Linked DNA regions of Homo sapiens: regions 1 and 2 are each linked to region 3. The links are contacts of gene promoters, found by promoter capture Hi-C in blood cells and fetal thymus (Javierre and others, 2016). All regions are on one chromosome and are shown on one strand. Each heading gives the region's core, a stretch centred on a gene start or on the middle of the fragment in contact. The rest is flanking DNA. Distances are from core to core; before and after follow the strand shown.

The links. The method cuts DNA at HindIII sites, captures the fragments that hold promoters and counts their contacts. A CHiCAGO score of 5 or more calls a contact.
Region 1: a fragment that was not itself captured here is called in contact with the fragment with the promoter of DPY19L3 in region 3 in 1 of 17 cell types (M1 macrophages); the score reaches 5.0 in M1 macrophages.
Region 2: a fragment that was not itself captured here is called in contact with the fragment with the promoter of DPY19L3 in region 3 in 1 of 17 cell types (endothelial precursors); the score reaches 5.9 in endothelial precursors.

What each region holds. Positions count from the first base shown.
Region 1 is chr19:30,692,238-30,696,629 of GRCh38, reverse strand. It overlaps a transcript of ZNF536 not described here. Among named protein-coding and RNA genes, the nearest start is that of ZNF536-AS1, 24 kb to the right of the region's middle. RefSeq lists enhancers at 3,382-4,004, 4,005-4,392. The HindIII fragment of the contact is 9,269 bases long and covers 1-4,392 here.
Region 2 is chr19:30,671,427-30,675,702 of GRCh38, reverse strand. It overlaps a transcript of ZNF536 not described here. Among named protein-coding and RNA genes, the nearest start is that of ZNF536-AS1, 3.4 kb to the right of the region's middle. The HindIII fragment of the contact is 7,406 bases long and covers 1-4,276 here.
Region 3 is chr19:32,403,533-32,407,472 of GRCh38, reverse strand. It overlaps DPY19L3 (dpy-19 like C-mannosyltransferase 3), which reads right to left and starts at 1,703. Exons shown (of 19, transcript NM_001172774.2): 1 at 1,564-1,703. DPY19L3-DT (DPY19L3 divergent transcript) reads left to right here and starts at 1,934. Exons shown (of 3, transcript NR_046201.1): 1 at 1,934-2,482. RefSeq lists silencers at 1,322-2,071, 2,102-2,151. The HindIII fragment of the contact is 5,769 bases long and covers 1-3,582 here.

The DNA of each region.
Region 1 (4,392 bases), core at 665-3,164, 1.7 Mb after region 3:
TTTGCTTACCCAGGCTCCTCTGATGAGTGGAGCCATCAGCCCGCCTGGGTGGTCAGGCAAGCCGGCCTGCCCTGCCAGTGTGCACTCAACAGCAACTATTGATCGGGGACCTTAAATCATTGCCCGGATTTTATGAAAGCATTTATGTTTATCATTAAATAACCTTCAAAGGGTCAATGAACTTACATTCCGTTTTTGAAGATTTTTCGATGTGTAATATAATAATACTCTAATGATACCCAGAGTTTGTCTCTGGGTGAGTGCATTTAGTCTTTAAAGAAATGCCGGGAGAAACCAAAGAGAAGGCGCTGGCCTGGAAGTGCTGGAGTGGGGGAGCCGGGAGCGGAGGGGCTGGTGGCCCACCTCACTCCTCCAGAAATTCCCTTCTCTCTCCAACATTGCGGGGGCTGGGGGAGAGGTGCTTATTAAACCGGCTTCAAAGGTAATTTTAAATGGAACCAAGCTGACCACTTTTCAGGTTAACAGCTTTAGCAAAAATCCCAAAAACTAGTGAATCAGAGTTGGATATTATTCCTAAAACAAAGCTAGAGTTGTGTATTTTTAAGTTTTTAACCAATTAATTTTTAAATATTAAGTGAAATTATTAGGGTGACACTCAGAGATGGCAAAAATAAGGAGTCTAAAATTAGCAGACGCAGCACCTATGATACACATTTAATATCCCTCGCTTCCCTCCTTAGGAACATTGGGCTAAACACAGTTATCTGAAATCCCTGTTGGCAATAAGATGGGCTGTAAGGATGCACGGAATTTAGCAGAGATGGTGACAGCCAGCCCTGTCCCTGTAAACCCTCTTCTGGGTACCATCAAGTCCACTGGGTCAATAGTCCACCTCAGACCAACAGTGAGACCTCTCCAGGCAGAAGAAAGCCACACCATCCATACCAAGTCAAGTCCCCAAATCCTGGCTATACATGTGCCCACCCCTCCTCTATAGCCATCCATGGCTCCCTATTTCTCACTGCAGTATCTCACCTCCTTAACCTGGCTTTCCAAATTGCAATCCCTTCTTACCTACTATACACTGTCGTTCCTACCAGAAATTCACCCATCTCCAGCCCCCACATCTTCTTCCATTGAGACCCGCCAAAGCCCCAACTCCTCCTAGAAGCGGTTCTCAGGACCCAGTCTGCAGAGCTCCACTTATCTGTGGCACCACACAATTAGGCACTTAATTATGTTCTGTCAGGCACTGTTCGCTAATGGCTCTAGGAGGCTGGAAACTGCTGCCCTCTGGCGGGCTCTGCACACAGTAGGGACTGGATAAGGAACCAGACGTTGTTTACTGAAGGACCTCTTTCTGGGGGTTCAGCCCACAGGAGTCCCCACCTTGCTATGCACACCCTGCTCAGAGCCTGGCACTTGGCTTCCTTCCTCCGTGCAGGCCACACCTCCTAACAGGTGACCCTGGAGCACCCTCCCCTGCACACTGTCCCTACCTGGTCTGTGCCTCATACCTGGAATGCCCCACCATGCCTTGCTGTTTTCCTCAGCAGGAAAATCTGAGTGCTCTGTGTTCCAGGGGGTCCCTTTAGTAACCCCAATCTCAGCTATTAATACTACGCTCTTCCTCCCATTCTCCACGTTGGTGGAGAGTGTTGAACGGCTTCTCAGGTGCACCTTGACATACTGGGTAGCTCTGCATTTTCCTCTTTCCTGCATTGAAGCTCAGAATCCCAATCACATCTCCAAGAACCACGCCCTGCCCTCCTCACTCTTGCCCTCCACCTTACCACTTTCTGTGGGGGACTGGGATGGCACGGCCCACCCTGACTGTGAGCTCCAAAAGCCCACAGGCCTCCCCCATGGGGGCCAAGTGGCTGCACCATAGATTCCATCACTGCTGTAGACATAAATGCATTCACCCTCCTAGTGGTTACAAGCTGCAGGCCCACATATTTTTTTCCCCCAACACTATTTCTTTAAAAAAAAATGTAATTCATTGCCAATGTTACATTTAAAAAAATATTTCACATTAAAACATGGATTTCCAGTTTCTCTTGCAAAGTCAGGAGGTCTGGCAAGATCTTCCTGGAGGCAGCCGCTGGGGAGCTGGGTCCCACTTATTCCCGCTGCCTGGCACCCATTTACTTCCCAGGCATCACCAGCCAGGCGCCTGTGGGCCCTGGACTTTCCAATCTCCACTTTGTACCACTCTCAACTAAACAGCCAGTATTGCACTTTCTTTGAGGTTGGGGCAGGGAGACTGGGTGAGGCTTTGTGTGTTTTTTCACCCAGCAGATGAACTGCATTCTTGTACACACCCAGTGAAATAAACAAGTGGGTGGTCCCTGCTGGTTCAATCACTTCCTGTTTTCCATTGTGTCGCTTAAAATGAACACATCAGCCCTTAATTGTAGTTTCTGTTTTATTGTACAACTTAAATGTGGGAGGGGGGCCAATATTGGAACTTGGCTTGTGCCAAGGGTGTGCTGTGCTCTGTATGGCACCAGGAAAGCCACAAGGGGAGGGGCCAACCTATGAAACCACCAGCATGAAGCACCTTAAGTGTATCGATATCCAATCCACTGAAAGCTGGCATCCAAGGTTATCTGTGGATAATTCACTACCTGCACACATCTTTCATAAAAACATTAGTGCATTTCCTACAGTGGGTTGGGGGGGCCATATGGGTTGCAGAGCAGCTCACCAAAAACAGTGTCGCGGGAGCAGTCACATTCCATCAAAATTCAGTGAGGTTGTATTGTATTAATGTGAGTTTATGTGTGAGAAAGAATCGCACATCTCTCTTCCCATAAAGGAATCAGACACCCGCAATCCATACCCACAGTATATATCCATATAGATGGGCACACTGGATATATTTAAAATAGCTACTTTTTATCATGCCCAATTCAACAAATTGGTACTGTGAACAATAGAAAATTACAAAGTAAAAAGGAAAGATGGAAGCATAAACTTTTCAATGCTCAGCCCTCATCCTGGAGCGCCACTAATGTCACGTGGCAGACATAAATAAATAAAATAAAACACAGAAGAGAGGTGTCTTTCTTTTTTTTTTATGAAGTCACAAAGGAAATGAGCCTCCTTTCTTCTCTTCTCTCCCCCCACTATAAAAGGCTCTCTCTAAAATCAAAGGTGTCAGACTTTGCATATCCTCTTGCTGGCATAATCCAGAATATGGCTGAGGAATGACAGATGTCCGCACCCAGCTGCAATGAAGCATGTGAAAGTTTCCATCTAATCCACTTATTTCTCTGTAGTCACGTAAACCAAAACAAATGGGCAGGGCTTTACATCAGGGGGAGGGGGAAAAAAACCTCACAGCATCAGGACTGTATTGCATAATGCAGTCTACACGCCATCTTGGTATCATCCTTCCTTCAGCAGGGATAAGGGCACCTTGTGGTGTGATCCAGTGTGGACCCAAGAGGGTCAGCTCATGTATCCCTTTGTCCCATGCGAGATGAGGTTTCTCAAGGGAGAGAGAAGTTTAAAATGAGTGGGGGGTGTCCGAAGCACGGAGAGGCATAGGGACAAGCGACCATGTGCAAGCACACACTAGTAGCACCTCCACGCTGCACACGTATACACACACTCTCTCTCTCTCTCTCTCTCTCTCTCCCCCCCAGGTTTTGGAGCTGCTAAACTAAGATGATCAGCTTAATCACCAGGCACCATCGTTTTCAACTACTTGAATAAATCCAGAGGAATTATAAACGGAGCCCGTGTGTAATTAAAGTGAGGGTTGTTAGACTCTTCATTTAATAAAACACTTCAAAAGAAAAGCCCTTATAGGTTTAGCAATGCCACAGGGAGCAGAAGGGTAAGTAAGCGCTGTGGGCGTGCGAGGAGGCAGCTCTGCCTCTTCCTAGTGTGCAGCGTGGCCACCTTCTGAACCCTCTCCCCTTTAAATCTTGTAAGGAGCCAGCCAGGAGCCGGAGTCTTGGGGCTCTGTCACCGCCAGCAGTTGCAACAGCTGCGAAGCACTCTTTCAGCACAAGTCGCGAGAAAAGACGTGACGGATTTCGCCCATGGCAGAACGGCGTTCCGTTTCTGGCCCTTCAGGCAAAAACAGTAAAGGCAAAGAGGAAAATTTGAGATTTCCCCCCTTAAACTTCCCACAACAACCTCAGCAAAACCACATGACTTGCCTTCTACAATCTCCCTGGTGTGTTCGCTGCCTCTTTGGCAAAGAATCAGAATTACTGTTATATAAATTCCATCTGATGCCAGAGCGACCATCTGTGAGTAAAACTGCTTCACCTACGTCTGCCTGCAAAGCCACTCTCCCAGAGACAAGGGAGAAGGGGAAAAAAATTTGATTAATTTGCAGAATGCTTGTGATTTGCTCATATATTATTATAACTGCTCATCAGCACATGATGAATTCCCAGCCCTCGGTGCAGG
Region 2 (4,276 bases), core at 1,074-3,573, 1.7 Mb after region 3:
GCCAGGAGACAGAGAAATCAGAGTGGGCGCACTCATTACCTTTGCCTCTGGAAATAAAGCAGAAACAGACATCTCAAGATGAGATTTCAAGGCATGCAGCTGTGAGCCTTCCCAGCTCCTTCTCCAATCCACACTTTCTTGGTTTCCTTCCTTTCGTGATAAGCCATGGGTTACATCTCAAATAAACCTGAATGACCTGATTTCTAAACTCTGGTTCTGCTTCCTGAAAAGTTGCCCTGAGAGTAGGACCAGCCGAGGTCCACAGGAGAAGAGTCTTTCAGTCTTTCACCTGTTAGGAACAGCGTCCTTTCTCACCTGTCTCTGCTCACTGGCCATAGAGCAACGGACACCTTTGAGGGGTCCATCAGGTAGAAGCTCTGGGCTCATTGCACTTTGAACGCTTGCATCAGCAAACTCAAGGGCAAATCCATTTGCCTGTTTACATGGCAGAAACAGAGACGAGTGGTTGCTACTTCTGATACAAATCTCTGTGGAAGTGTCTAATGGCCCCCAAAGCCTAAATGGCATATCCAGTTCCTTAGAGGTGCGGCAAACGGATTCCAAGATCAATAAGCACTGTCCTATAGATAGCTACAGGAATGAAAGCCAGAGAACATGAGGCCAGAGAGAGAAACTGAGCCTCGTGGAGCACTGCACTGTTATCTGTGTCTCTTGGGAGTTGTGGAAACAGAGCCTCTCAGCCACCTTCAGCTGCAGGAGTTTCTCAGGGGGAAGGGATTTTGACAAGGCGGGCAGGTAAGCAGTGGAGCCCAGCCCGATGCCCACGTGACCTGTTCAAGCAGCAGGGTGTCATTCTCCCTGACCACAGGGGGATGGCTGGAAGGACCATCTCTGAGCATGTCCTGCCCTGTCTACTTGACTCCCATCTCTAAATGCAAAAAGCTGCCTACCTCGAATACCAACCAAGAACACACTATACAGGAGGCTTTTATTGACATCCCAGCTACAGAGGCAAGCTGGACAAGCTGAAAGTGCCTCCGAGTTCATATTTAGAGCTCAAGCTGGCCTCCACCCACGATGGGCAGCAATTTACCAGACAAAGGCAGCTTCCTCACCTCTCAGGTGGGGTCACTCTGAGGAGTGCTCTTCAGGTCCCAGAGCTCCCCAAAACTCCAACTGCCCACCTGGATTGAGGGCATACACTCCATTGGTTTCCTTCCCTTCCCAATACTCCATCAGTCACATGTCAAGTAAACCTGGATGCCCTGATTTCTTAACTCTGGCTCTGCTTCCTGAGAAATTAACCTGAGAGTAGGACCAGCCAAGGTCCACAAGAGAAGAGTCTTTCAGTCTTTTACCTGGCAGGAACAGCATCCTCTTTCACCTGACTCTATGCAACCACTCCCTCTCCATCCCCGGGCAGCCTGGGCACAGGGTGCATGGCACAGGATGCCCAGAACCAGCCCTAGCTCTGCTTACGGGACACAGAGTGATGCCTACGTGCCTTAAGGAGCACTGTGCCCTGAAAGCCTTCTCCACCCAGGCCCCTATCCCATCTCCTGCTGTCACCCCGCCAACCTGCTCCTCTCAGATAATATTTCCGAGTGCCTCAGCTCTGAAACACAATATCTGCCTCTTGGAGATGTGATGTGAGCTTTCACATCAGTTCCACCAAAAGTTAATTTCTGTGATGAATGCAATATACTCAAACCCATAAATCTGACCATCTGAAGGATTCAAATGGGGAATTATTGACAGCTGATGGAACCCAAGTGCGGAGATGAAGCTGCTTTTCTCATCTGTCCATCTAAATGTTGGAATGTGTATTGATTAAAATATGACTCGCTACAGAACCCAACATAAATCTAAACTCTATTAGATTAACACTAGCATTCAATTAACATAAAATGACAACGTAGGAGAAAAAGGCTGTGTGTCGGTCACCAGTAATATTTTACCTATAAACATGGGGAACCTGACATCGGGACGTGCGTCCGTGCACGGTTTGGGGTGGTGGGCACGCATGTGAGAGTTAGGTTGGGATGTGTGCCCCAGAGGCAGGAAGAGGTGACGAGATAGCAGGCTTAGGGGCACTGCAGGCTTCAGCCACAGGAGGAGAAAAGGGTGGCTGTGGCTGGTTGGCTTGACTCTTTTACTATTGCTTTTATTTAAGATGTGCCTGGGTGGCCAGGGCCATGGTGCTGTGCGGGCGATGTATGTGCCAGTCCCGTGGCAGGCACAGGGCGGGAGACCCGTCTACAAAAGGAAAATCTGAGTCAGCTTCTCAGACACAGAGAGAATGTTTTCAGTGGGTTCAGGACCCCAGCGTGGAGCAATGAAGATTTCCCCCAGGGAGAGGAGAGCAGAGATTTGAAGATGAACTGAAAAAATTCATATTGGAATCTAGGCAGAGGAAGACCAAGCAGAAAAGTGATGAAACAACAGTGATGTCATGTGTGCCCCTGAAGGGCCAGGCGCTGTGCTTGGCTTCTGCTCAGATCTGTCACTATTTCATGTCTCATAGGTCACACAGATCATACAGATCACCCTGGAAGGGTCCTAGGCGGGCTGGAACAGCTGACAGTGCAGATGAGGAAACGGAGGCTCGGAGAGGCTCGATTCTCATGTGACAGGGGCACTGGAGTCCTCACCCATTCCCCTGGGCCATCTCCTGCAGGCTGTTTCCACATATGCCAAAGCATATGGGGCTTTCTGGCCAAGGGGGTTCTCCAGTCATGGGCTCTTATTGGATTAAAGGGCCAAAGGGTGAACACCCCAGGAATACACTCAACCAAGACAGGATAGGGGCTGGCTTATAAACACCGCAGCTTTCTTGAGGTTGTCCACATAGTTCCTCGGAGGGTCCCAGCAGGAATAAGACTCCATTTCCCACAGGGATCACCTGCTTCAAAACACGCCTACATCTGCTCCCCCCACTCCCTCCTTGTACTTCCTGGGATCTTCTCTCCCTCCTCCCAAAAAACTGCCTGTGCCTAAATCCTTATCTTAGGGTATGATTCTGGAAGATTCCAAGCAAAGGACTAAAGTCACAGAACTCATAAGTGGTAGCAGAGAATTTGATGTGTTTGTTTTTTAAACCAGGCTTCTCATCATTCTCCCCCATGCTCTTACTAACAGATTCTTGAGCTAGGATTGGAGAGGAATGGGATTAAAACATCACTACAAAGAAGATGGAGGTTTGCAGACCCCATCTTTCAGATTTGACCTTGTTTGCTGTATGGACCCTGAAATATGCTTTGCTGTGGAAATAATGCCCCTTTTGTAATTGGGTGCCCAGGCTAGCTCTCAAAGCCCTCTTAGCATCTGGTTTACATGTTCACCAATTCGCTATTTCAAACGCATGCATTCTAATGTAAAATATTGCATGTAAGGGTACCAACTTGGGAATGCCAGAAACACACCTGAGCAACGGCAGCCCTGGGGTGGTCACTTAAGTCTCTATAACATCAGCACAATTATGGCCCCTCTGCACACACAGACTCCTCCAGGGGATGGGGCACCCCAACTGGCAGATCATTTGTAAGAAGTTCTGAATTGCAGAATAAAAGGGGAAGCTATTTTCTGTCTGTCTGGGTTCAGTTTCTCTGGCCAAGTAATCTATCTTGTTTTGAATAAAATATTATAGCAAGGAAAAAGAAACGTTGAGATGGGAATCGGGTGACCCAAGTGAAGGCCTGGACGGCCCCAGTGAGTGACATAGCCTTGGCTGAGTGGGCCGGGTCCCAGGGCGGTGACCACGCTCCGTAAAGTCCTACTGAGAAAAGAACTCCTGGGTAGATGATGGGCCTGTCTTGATGCCTCAAGTCCAATGGCCACAGACCCTCCCAGAGATCCTTCCAGCTGTACCAGGACTAGAAGGACATTCTCAGGGATCTTGCCAAGCAAGGATCTTGGCAGCCTCCCAGGGTCGGAAGAATGCATTTTGAAATTGCAACCACCCAAGTTGAGGCTGTTTGTTCGTCACTGAACAAATGTCTGCTGAGTATCTATTTATACCTAGTGCTTCCTGAGATAGCGCAGGTGCTATAAACACTAGTTAGACATATCCCCATGTCACTGCAGACTGCCCGCCTCCTCCTCACCTCTGGTCACTGAGGAAGAGCCACCTCCCTCCAGTGAGGCTGTGCCCTCTCAGCACCTGGGGCCTCCACCCCTGCCCCGCTTCCCCTTCTCCTTCTCCCTCAGTTCTTCCTGCTCTGCACCCCTGAAGCCCCAGAGTCACTTGGATGAAGCCGCCATCATCTCTGCTGAGTTGACAAGGCCTCCGTGACCTGGCCACAGTCTCTCTCCAGGC
Region 3 (3,940 bases), core at 454-2,953:
TACTCCATAGTAAATGTGTTGACAACCGGATTTTGAAGAATTAAAATATTGTTTTGTCTCAGGTACCTGAATTTTAACACCAGTGTTCTATAAAACAATTCACACTGGCAGCTTCAGGAATACGCCTCAGTGGTGATGACTGCGGGGGTGTGCCAATCAGGGCAGCTGCTATCCCAGGGAGCGTCGGTGGGAGTAATGGGTGGGGGGGAGCAGGAGCCTGGTTTGGCAGCAGCAAGTGGGAGGCGGGGGAGTGGTGGCAGTGAGTAAGCGGGTTCCAGTCCTCCAGAACATCTTGCTTCACTCCTCTGAATAATGAACAGCCTCTTACTAATTATTTCTTAAATGTGACTAGTAGCCTGACATGATTGTTTCCACAGTTTATTAATTCCTAAGGGTAACTTGCTCTACAGAACAAACCAACTAACATTATACAATTCATGTATTCATTCATACCAAAAAAAAAAAAAAAAGCAGGAAGCCAGATTTAAGTACTGTGCTTTCAAGCACTGGAAATGGAGAATCTGGAACAGAGAGGGAGAAGAGGAGTGTTTAACAAAGTCCTACAGCCACAGATGGGCTTATCCCCCATGTGACCTCATCCTAGAGTCCTCCCTAAGTGTGAGAGGACTTTTTTAAACAATTCATATATTCTAATATGTTAAGGCAGAAAACCAACACATATTTAAGTACCAATTATGTGTCAGGCACTGCAACAGTCCCATGAACTAAGAAAAAAAGTTCCTCCATCAGATCAAAAGGAATGCCATTGTAAACAACTGAAAAGGGACCAGAAGCGATTCTTTATTAATAAGGACGACTAGCGCTAGCCGGGCGAGGCGGCTCATGTAATCCCAGCGCTTTGGGAGGTTGAGGCAGGAGGATGACTTCAGACCATGAGTTTGAGACCAGCCTGGGGAACAGAGCGAGACCCTATCTATACAATAAAATAGCCAGGCTCGGTGGTGCATGCCTGTGGTCCCAGCTACTCCAGAGGCTGAGGTGGGAGAATCGCTTGAGCCCAAGAGTTCGAGGTTGCAGTGAGCCGTGATAACGCCACTGCACTCCAGCCTGGGCGAGACAGCGAGACCCCTGTCTCTAAAAAATAAAAATAAAAAAGCCTAGCGCTCTAGTGAGCATCCCCTGGACGAGGCAGGCACCGGGTCCGCTTACCTACGCGCCACGCCCCTGCACACCTGGCGTCCCCATCAGGTAGGTCTCCAAGGACAGGGGCAGCCGGGAAGTTCAGGCACGCGCCCCAGCTCTCCCAAGACCGCGAGCGGCCGCCGGGGTCGCAGCCCAGGCCCTGCCTCGCCGCACGGCCGACGAGCAGAAGCCGCTCCGCAAACTTGGTCCTTCCGGAGCCCAGCCCGGCCCGCGTCCCGGCAGACACTCCCGCGCTCCGCCCCTCCCGACGCCCCGACGCCGCGGCCGCGCCCCCCGACTGCGCCACGCGGCGGGGAGGGGCGGCCCCAGGGGCTCGGGGCTGTAGCCGAGGGTTCCGCCGGCGCCCGCCCGCCCTCTCGGTAGACCCTCGCCCGCGCGTCCCGGCGCGCCGCCACAGACCTGCGGCCTCAGCCGTCCTCACGCGCGGCTCCGGGAGGGGAAGGAGGCCGACGGGGCTAGGCGGGAACGGGGCCGCGCCACGGGCCGCAGCGCGCCGCGGGTACAAGGAGGGCAGAACCGCCGCGGAGCTTTGTGGAAATGAGGGGCTGGGGGGCGTCAACAGCCCCGGGGAGGGGGCGCGCCGGAGAGGCCGGGCGGCTGCCCCCGCGCCCATAGGCCCCGGGAGCTGTTCGTCAACACTAGGCCCCGCCTCCTCCCGCGGTTCCCCGCCTCGTCTCGTGCTGCGCTGGCCGGAAGGAAGCGGCACACTTCCGCTTGCCTGGTCCGCATTGAGTCCGGTCTGTTCCGGAGACTCTGAGCGCGGCCGCGGAGCTGCAGTGGCGGGGAGTGGGGTGCGGATCTTGTGTTTGCGCACGCAGTCGCCGGCCACCTCAGGCCGGAGCTAGAGATACGGCTCGGGATAGGAGGGCCCGGCGGCTCTGAGGCAGGTTCGCCTCGAGCCGCACGGCCCGGAGCAGCGGCTCCGCGGTGGTCCCCGGGGCTTGAGAGGGGTGCGGGCCTGGGAGCCCCTGAGGGCCTGATTTACGGAACTCCCCCTCCTTCCTCCTTTCTGCCGTTCCCTGCTCTGTGGCGGATGCGCAGGGATCAGTAGGGACGGCAGCAGTAGGGCCACTCGGGCCTGCCCCGCTTCCCGCATTGCCCGGTTTGGCGCGCCGCCTCCGGGCCTTGGCAAAGCCCCAGCGCCCGATTGTCACTGACCAGTGCTTGGAAGTCCTTTACCGACTGCCCGTCAGCGTCCCGCGGAGAGGATTTTGCGTCTCCAAAGACGCCCCTCTTCCGAAAACAGGCTCCTCTGTGTTCTCAGTCGGGTATATTTTTCTGTCTCCAAACTAGATTGGCAGCCGTTTTTTGAGAGCAGGTACTGACTGTGCTTTATTTCTAGATACTTTTCTTAGTCACACCACGGAAAACACTAGGTGGAACCTTTTTTAAAATTATTTTTTACAGGTGAGGCTCTCAGTCTGTCGCCCAGGCTGGAGTGCAGTGGTGCTATCACGGCTCACTGCAACCTCGGCCTCCTGGGCGCAAGCGATCCTCCCGCCTCAGCCTCCGGAGTAGCTGGGACCACAGGCTCGCACTACTATGCCCAGCTAATTTTTAAATTTTTCGTAGAGATGGGGGTCTTGCTTTGTCGTCCAGGCTGGAGTGCAGTGGTGTGATCGTAGCTCACTGCAACCTTAGTCCCCTGTGCCCAAGTGACCCTGCTTCCTCAGCCTCCTGAGTAGCTGAGATTCATTTTAATTTTTATAGTGATGGGGTCTCGTTGTGTTGACCAGTCTGGTCTAAAACTCCTGAGTTCAAGCAGGCCTCCTGCCTCAGCTTCTCAAAATGTTGGGATTACAGGCTTTAGCCACTGCAGCGGGCCCATCAAACGTTGTATTTGTCAGTACATAATTTACATGTTAATTGATTTTTGTTAAAGGGATGGCCATCTGGGACCTCCACCCGTGAAAAGGCGGCTCATTGGTCTGACTCCAACACTAAATTACGCCATCCAGGAAGCCTTTCCTAGTCACCTCTGTTGGAGATCGTCCTCCTTTGTGTGTCGGTTGTTAGTAAAGAGCACACGTTCTGTGGAAAGATGTTGAGGTATCTGCTGGATGGCTTTGATAGAAACAAATGTCAGCTGTTTTTTCAGATGGCATTTGTCTTGTTTCAGCCTGGTTGTTGGTAGCTTTTCTGTCGCCTGGCTTGAGGGCAAGGACTGTATGTTTATTTTTCACGTTAAGATGCCTTTATGTGCATGTGTCTGTTTCATGAATACATAGGTGAATTGAGTTCCCCTTAAATAGGATTTCCCTCTTATTTTATAGGTTTTTTTTTTTCTCTCAAGTTGTTTCACTCTGGGGGAAATGTGACCATTGTGAAATATCATCGCTTAGTTAAAAAGAAAGTAGAATTCAGCAGTAGCTGCTTTTTTTAATACTATGAAAAGACATTCCTAAGCAAGATGAAGCTTTGAGACTTTTCCTAAGTAGGACCTACTGCTGAGAGTAAGTCTTGGGGAGAATAAGCCAATTAAGAATGAGTCTTTGGTTCTGATAAAGTAACCATGGAGGTGATGGATAATGAGTGTAGGTCCTTGCTCACACTTCTGGCCATATGAGCCCGGAGCCAGGGAGGTACTATAAAAGGAATGGGCTCCTGTAATGGACTGTGACTGCAGTGGTGGTATATAGCAAGACTTCCGGTTTGCAGTAGGTTTAGAAGCCTAAATAGTCTCCCTGGTTGTCTCTGCCAGGGCCACAAATAGTTGTGCTGTGCATCTCAAAAGTGTGGTCTGGGGATCTGCAGCGTCACTGTCACCATCACTTGG